Regions from separate parts of the Homo sapiens genome. Here region 1 is linked to region 2. Evidence: promoter capture Hi-C in 16 types of primary human blood cells and fetal thymus (Javierre and others, 2016). All regions are on one chromosome and are shown on one strand. Each heading gives the region's core, a stretch centred on a gene start or on the middle of the fragment in contact. The rest is flanking DNA. Distances are from core to core; before and after follow the strand shown. Region 1 overlaps DACH1 (dachshund family transcription factor 1). Region 2 holds the start of DACH1 (dachshund family transcription factor 1).

Evidence for each region. Contacts are between HindIII fragments. The CHiCAGO score rates a contact against its expected background, and 5 or more counts as called.
Region 1: a fragment that was not itself captured here is called in contact with the fragment with the promoter of DACH1 in region 2 in 1 of 17 cell types (monocytes); the score reaches 5.1 in monocytes.

Annotation. Positions count from the first base shown.
Region 1 is chr13:71,705,003-71,708,962 of GRCh38, reverse strand. All of the region lies in intron 1 of DACH1 (dachshund family transcription factor 1), which reads left to right. Among named protein-coding and RNA genes, the nearest start is that of DACH1, 160 kb to the left of the region's middle. The HindIII fragment of the contact is 3,858 bases long and covers 686-3,960 here.
Region 2 is chr13:71,865,520-71,869,190 of GRCh38, reverse strand. DACH1 (dachshund family transcription factor 1) reads left to right here and starts at 1,987. Exons shown (of 11, transcript NM_080759.6): 1 at 1,987-3,269. The coding sequence starts at 2,422. The HindIII fragment of the contact is 4,223 bases long and covers 1,596-3,671 here.

The DNA of each region.
Region 1 (3,960 bases), core at 1,365-3,864, 160 kb after region 2:
GAGAATGGCGTGAACCCGGGAGGCTGAGCTTGCAGTGAGCCGAGATCGCGCCACTGCACTCCAGCTTGGGCGACAGAGCGAGACTCCGTCTCAAAAAAAAAAAAAAAAAACAACAAAAAACTTGGAAACCCTGAGAAAGCTTATTGACAAAGTAATAATCATAAGCAACATTTTAAGAACATTTAGAGAAGAATTGGATGTAGAAAAGTTGGTAACAAACAATACTTGGAAGATATTAGCTTGCTTATCTGAATGTTTTGCAAACCATATTACAAGAATCACTGTAGGCTATTTAAATCTTCAACGAAGATTATTTTGCAGTTATTACACTTAGATATATTCTTCATAATATATTATATGTTAATATATTCTTCAGTTTCATAAATGGTATTGATGAGATTGGATACAAGAAAGGGTAGCAGTTTGATATGGGAAACACCAGAAAACTTCTATTCAAATGTTTTATTAAATAGTTTTCAACTAAGTATTTTAGCCCAAAATAAAACATGCAATCTCTTTCTCCAGATCTGTATTTGAAAAAATGAAATTATACTGATTTCAGATAATCCTCTCTTTAAAATAATAATTTACTAAGTTAATATGGTCATATTCCTATTTTGAAGGAATTAAGTTGAGAAGTGAAAAACTTAATAAATGAACTGCTTTGATTCAATCAAGTCAAGCTTACTTTTAATACCAGACTTTAATTTGACTATATGGTTTGCTTGTTGATTGCTTTGTTGTTATAGATCGAGGCACAGGAATAAGCCATGCAGAAGAGACTATATATTTCAAATGCACCCTTAATCAGGGTTTTTATTTTGTTTTTACTTTTTTTTTTTTTCATTTTTGGTTTTAGTGAAAATCGCCAGTTTGTTTGTTTTTTGCTATAAAACTTAAGTGCTTTATTTTAATTTATAGGTGATTACTAGCCTTTGGAGAAAAAGAAGTTAGATTACTCACCAAGTATATTATTATGCTTTTCCACTTCAGTGGGCCTGGTGAAACTTTCTTATGAGCTCTCTTTCAAGGATAAAAGCCAAATAGTGGGAGGTGTTTTTGAAACACCATGTGCCCTTGAGTATGGCTCACTTACCCATCTCTTCATCCTCCCTTTCATTGTTCTCCTACAGCCTGTTATTTTTAAATCTAGATTTCTGCCATTATCTTCTATTAAAGATGCCACCCTCTAGTCTTTTTCTCCAACTTTACGTTTACACCAATTTACATTTCATTCCATTTCCTTGCTTAAAGTTATTACTTTTCTTATAAATAAAATCTAGGTAGGCTTTTAAGGCCCTTGGAAATCTGATTACAAATTATCCTCTCTTAATTTCATCTTCTCTAGATGTAAGAGCCTAATTATTACGTCTAAACAAATATTATGTCATGCCTTTGTTCTGCTTCTGTTCTCTGGGATTATTTGCCTCTCCTTACTTTCTTTTCCCTTGCCAAATTCCAGTTCACTTTCATGACCAAGTGTTCAGGGAGGCTCAGGGCTACTCCTTCCCCAAAGCCCACCATCTGCATTTGGGCACCGTGTACACAGGCTCACTTTCAGGACAAGCCCAGTGCAAAATACAAATGTAGGGTCCCTTATTTTAAAATGGTAAGAATTCAAGATGCTGACAGCAGAGCATTAAATCCAGCAGAAGAAACTCTTCCAAGCACGTGACTTGTGCAGCTGCACAGGTTGCATGCCCTGCTGAGACTTCCTCAAGAAATGCTCCCATAGCATGTAGTTCACATCTTTATTATGTTGCATTTACACAGCATGCTTACTGCATGTGTATGTATGTGCCTGTCACCCCAAGAGCTTGCAAGTTCCATGAGGGGACAGACCTGTCTTAATGTTCTTTCAAGTCCTTTGACCTAGTCAATTTCCTCACAGGAAGAGATACTCACTAAATGTATTAAATTAAATGTGAAGATGACTATGGGAAATAAAAACATTCAAATGTGTGTTTATCTAAGACTTTAATATCAAATAATTTGTGAAATAAAGTTTTTAGATATATTAAAATGAAAATCATAGTTTATCAATACGGTCTTTAAAACAGTTTAAATAGCGACAGTAAACTCTTACTGTACCGAGGCAGATTCATTATAAATGTGAGAATTCAGTTGGAAATAGAGTTGAAAGAATAATTCTAGGACATACAGTATTAACTTGACTTTAATATGAGAATTAATGCATTTTAACATTTTTCAACTTTATATAATACTTCAAATAAGAATGCATATTTTGGTCTGAAAAAAATAGATATAGAATAAAATTGTGTAGTGAAAAAAATTACCACAAGCCAAGAGAATTATTCTGAAAGAATTTAGGTGAGTGAAATTATCAAGAAAACATGATAGTTCATATTCGTGAAGAAATCAATTTTATTTTTGTATCAAGCCAGTGCTTGAAAAGAATGGAATATGTCCAAGTAATCACATCACATGTTTTTGCTAAATTTCAGATAATTAAAAATAAATAGCAAACAAACTGGGAAATTATGTCTTATTGTTTTGATTATTTCAAATCTGAATATTTGCAAATATGCTATCTTTGTTGGGATTTCAATTAAGCAGGCTGTTATTAAAAATACATCTCACTGTAAAAAATATAAATATGCTACCCAATAGATTTCAATTAATACTAAGTTCTTAAATGGATGAAAGGCTAATAATATGTTTTAATTAATATAAAGATTAATAATATAATTAATAATATGTTTTTATCCCTTTTGTTGTCCTGATTCTTTATAGAAAATCAAGGAAGTTGTACATAATAAAATGCCACTTAAAAACTCTAAGATGATATAGGGTTCTATTGTGAGTTCTGTAACATTCGCATTAGAAAATATCCTATTCTGACTGAATTTTTACATGACTTGAAGCTGGTGGTAAAGGTAGAGAATATTTATGATGACAAGGTTTTGATCACTAGATTTCTTGATTGATAAGAAAAAATATCTGATAGTTTCTAAAAAGAAAAATAAATATATGCTATTGTACAAGGGTACAGAAGAAAAAGGATATAAATTGAAGGTTAGTTGTTGAACAAGTGTGCTATGGAGAAAAGGGAAAAGGAGATATGAATAGAGAAGCACACTTACAGAATTTGTATGAACCATATGATAATTACTAATTGTTTTAATGGAGACTTCATGACATGCTCAGAAGAGATAAGACTTGATTTACTTGATTCTAAAAAAAAAAAGAAAGACTTTTCATATAGAGATCTAAGTGGTAATTCCAAAGTCTTTTGGCTCTTTAACATCAGAAAATAACTTTTCCCAAGTTTTTGCTATGGAAGGATTGGAGGAGTTTCTTTGGTAGCTAACAAATTGCCTATCTGCCTATACATTCATTGATAGGCTTGAGCTATGTGAATTCAATGAAGAATTCAAATCCATAAAACATTTTTTGAATAAATTCATTTTTAATGATGTTTAATGATTTTTTAATGATGAGTTCTAAATGATGTTAAACCACTGTCTTCCATACACTTCAGCAGTCCTTATCTACTTATAAGCAAGTGCTCATTTGCAGACAGGTTTGTTAGTTTCTTCAAGTGAAGCCCAATGTGCTGAGAGAGTTGTAGCCAACAACATTTCGGTCCCTAAATAGCGCTTTAGAGCATTTTCTAGTTTCTGGTTGTGGACTTTATTCTTTTTCCCAACCCAGAGTCATTGAATAAATAAAGATAAAAATCTTAACACAAAATATTATTACTAGAGGAAAACGAAGTCCAAGATTTATGACAGTCTACCTTGACAATATTCACTCTGTACTTAGCTGTTTGATAATTTTTGGTCCTGTCCTACACCTTATATCTTGAACAGCATTATCTCCAAACACAATGGATCACTCTTTATATATGTGCTAGGAAATATAGCTTAGTGCTAGTTTCAACATCACTACCATAAAAATGTGAATGTAAATGAATAGTCTTTTAATCAAAATGTATCA
Region 2 (3,671 bases), core at 738-3,237:
ATTTATTAAAGTTAGGCATAGAATTCGAAAATAAAATTAGCTTTTCAGGGCTTAATACTTTCTTCCTCCCCTCCCCTCATTATAATAGTAGTTTGGTATGTCTTAAAAAAGTAATATTTTCTAAAACATGCAAAAATACTTAAGGAAGTGTTTTGATGTATGTGATATATATTGAATTCCTACTTTTACCCATAACAAATTTGAAGACTGAAACATAAATAAAAATTATTTCTGAATGTATTACAATACATTGGTTAACCAGGCCAAACAACTGTTTAAACTTTAGTTGTCCTTGCAGAAGTTCATGGACTTTTCTGCAACAATCGATTTTCTGAATTCTTATCTCCCAGGAAAGCCTCCTGATTTAACTGCTATGTCCCAAAAATTTTAGTATAATCATACACTAATTAGTCCATAGTGTCATATTTCTATTTTTCGGTAGACAGTTCCTGCACTATTTGACACTGCGATTCACAGAGTTCAAAGGCTTAAAATGATATAGAGAAATGTGATCATTTCAACACCAGAATGGCAAAAATTTTATTATAAAATTTCCCAACCCTGTGAACCTGCTACTAACAGTTTATTTTAAAAATCTGTCAAATGCTAAAGCATTGCTTCATATCTTATGAACTTACTGAACATGTGTGGACCGGTTCAAAGGCTAACTAATTGAAGATACTTGGAGACATGAGCAGCAAATAGATTTGACCCATATTCAAATGATATGTTAGTCAAAAATCCTTGAATAAATACTTCAGTGCAACAAGTTAGAAAAGAAAAGAAAAGGAAAGAGGAAGGAAAGGAGGAATAGAGTCAGTCTAAACTCAGCCTCATGTTGTTTTAAGCACAGCTACCCAAGTCTTTACAAGTCAACTAGTGAGCTTTGTTTTTGTTCTTCCCATTATTTACAAAACATATATTTACTGACAAATTGAAAAGGACTTTCCAAAACTACAGCAGCACTTTTCAAACATGAAAAAAAAAAAAAAAAAACTATTGTGTTGTCCAAAAAACACATTAGCAATTGGCTTTGGGTCTTAAAGGACATGAGGATAGTTGGTTACTGTGTAAGACAGGTGAATTAATTATAGAGTTTTGGGTAAGAAAACCCTTTTTCCACTTTCTAAATCTTCAAGGATACCTTATCTCCTTGATAGCTCTAGGTTTAACAGGTATTTCTGACTGGCTTTTGGGGAGACAGTGAAGTTATTCTAAATCATCCACATCAAGGCAAGCATTTCTTTCCACAACCTATTAGGAAATATGGAATTGAATACAGAGCTTTCCATTATTCTTAAGCGATTTCGGACTGACTTTCTTCTCACCACTTGAAAACTGTCCTGGAATTTTCACTATCTTTATATAAATAAATAATTTAGTAGAGAAATAAACAATCAGATGCAAAAGAACATTACGCTTTGCTTACATGTGAATTTTCCTCAAAATAATTTCTGAATAATCGTGAAGTGGGGGCTGTGTTTTCGTTTCTAGCTCATTGCCAAAACGCGTGGAGATGGATCCTAAATCCTGGAAGGAGAGAGCTCGGCGCGCTCAGGCTCCTCTTTAAGTTGGCGGGCGATTGTTTAGAAGCTTTGGAAAAAATTACCAGTCCCCGCGGACGAAATGGAATGTGAGACATGCAATCTAACGGTAGTAGTAGAAGAGAAGTAGATGATCTCCCTCTCCTTTTCCGATCGCCACTTCTGTGTCCCCGGCTTTTCCTCTCCGTCCCTCCCACAGTTTCTTTCCGTATCCTCCCCCTCCCCTCCTCCTTTCCTCGCACGCTCCCTCTCCAGTGTCTCGCGCTCTCGGAGTCTCTGCTCCGAGTTCCTGGTTGGATAATTTGGGTTAATACTAGTGAGTGAGGTTTTTGCGGCTTCAAAGGGTATTTCAAGTTTCCGGAGCTCCTCCCCTCTGCACCGTGTGACAACAACAACTCGTCCAGCCGGCAGCCTGCACTTTTCAGCTCATTTTCTCTCTGTCATTCCCCTCTCAATCTTTGATCAATGTACTTGCCAGGGAGAGCCCAAGTCCTTCAAACCTCCTCCTTTTCACCTTCATCCTTAACTTTGTGCTAGAGCGAGACCCACACAACAACAGCCGACCCTCCCCGCCCCACCCCCACCCCCAAACCAGCCCTCGATCCCAGCCCCCGGAGAGGACTCGCATTTCGACTTGCGGGACACTTTTGTGCGTTCCTCTCCAGAGCGCCTCTCGTGCTCGCCCCTCTTGCGCTCGCTCTTTATTACCTTCACCTCCTTTTCTCCCCCTTCTCTCCCTTTCTCCTTCTCGTTCTCTCCCGGAGTTGTTGTTGCCCCCCTCGCTCCTTCTCCCCCCTTTTTTCCCCTTCCCCTCCCGGGGGTGTGTGGCAACTTTTCCTCTCGCTTCTCCTCCGTCTGTTTCCCCTTATATGTGACCATGGCAGTGCCGGCGGCTTTGATCCCTCCGACCCAGCTGGTCCCCCCTCAACCCCCAATCTCCACGTCTGCTTCCTCCTCTGGCACCACCACCTCCACCTCTTCGGCGACTTCGTCTCCGGCTCCTTCCATCGGACCCCCGGCGTCCTCTGGGCCAACTCTGTTCCGCCCGGAGCCCATCGCTTCGGCGGCGGCGGCGGCGGCCACAGTCACCTCTACCGGCGGCGGCGGCGGCGGCGGCGGCAGCGGAGGCGGCGGCGGCAGCAGCGGCAACGGAGGCGGCGGTGGCGGCGGCGGCGGTGGCAGCAACTGCAACCCCAACCTGGCGGCCGCGAGCAACGGCAGCGGCGGCGGCGGCGGCGGCATCAGCGCTGGCGGCGGCGTCGCTTCCAGCACCCCCATCAACGCCAGCACCGGCAGCAGCAGCAGCAGCAGTAGCAGCAGCAGCAGCAGCAGCAGTAGTAGCAGCAGCAGCAGTAGCAGCAGCAGCTGCGGCCCCCTCCCCGGGAAACCCGTGTACTCAACCCCGTCCCCAGTGGAAAACACCCCTCAGAATAATGAGTGCAAAATGGTGGATCTGAGGGGGGCCAAAGTGGCTTCCTTCACGGTGGAGGGCTGCGAGCTGATCTGCCTGCCCCAGGCTTTCGACCTGTTCCTGAAGCACTTGGTGGGGGGCTTGCATACGGTCTACACCAAGCTGAAGCGGCTGGAGATCACGCCGGTGGTGTGCAATGTGGAACAAGTTCGCATCCTGAGGGGACTGGGCGCCATCCAGCCAGGAGTGAACCGCTGCAAACTCATCTCCAGGAAGGACTTCGAGACCCTCTACAATGACTGCACCAACGCAAGGTGAGTCGGGGGGGATAGCCCCCGCCGCCCGCGCCCCTTCCCACCAGCCTGCTCGCCTGCCCTCGCTCCTTTCCCGGCGCCGCTCGCTCTGCGCGCCCGCGAGCCGCGCGCCCCGGCGAGCGCGGCCCTCTCCTCTCCCTGCTCGGGGCTCGCCAGCCGCGCCCGACCCCCTGAGAAGTTGGCACCTCACCCTGCCCAGACCTCGCTCTTCGGCCCGGTCCTCCCCTTGCCCTCTGGGTCCCGGGGATGGGCTGCTGTGGGATGTGGGAAAGCCGAGCCTCGGGGCGGAGGGGACGAGAGGGAGGAGGACGGCGCCTTTGCTGGAGCCACAGCCCCCTGCCCCGGGCGCGCGGGCGCCTGGAGACCCCTCTCAGCGCTGCTGTCCGCGTTCGTGCGCTCCCC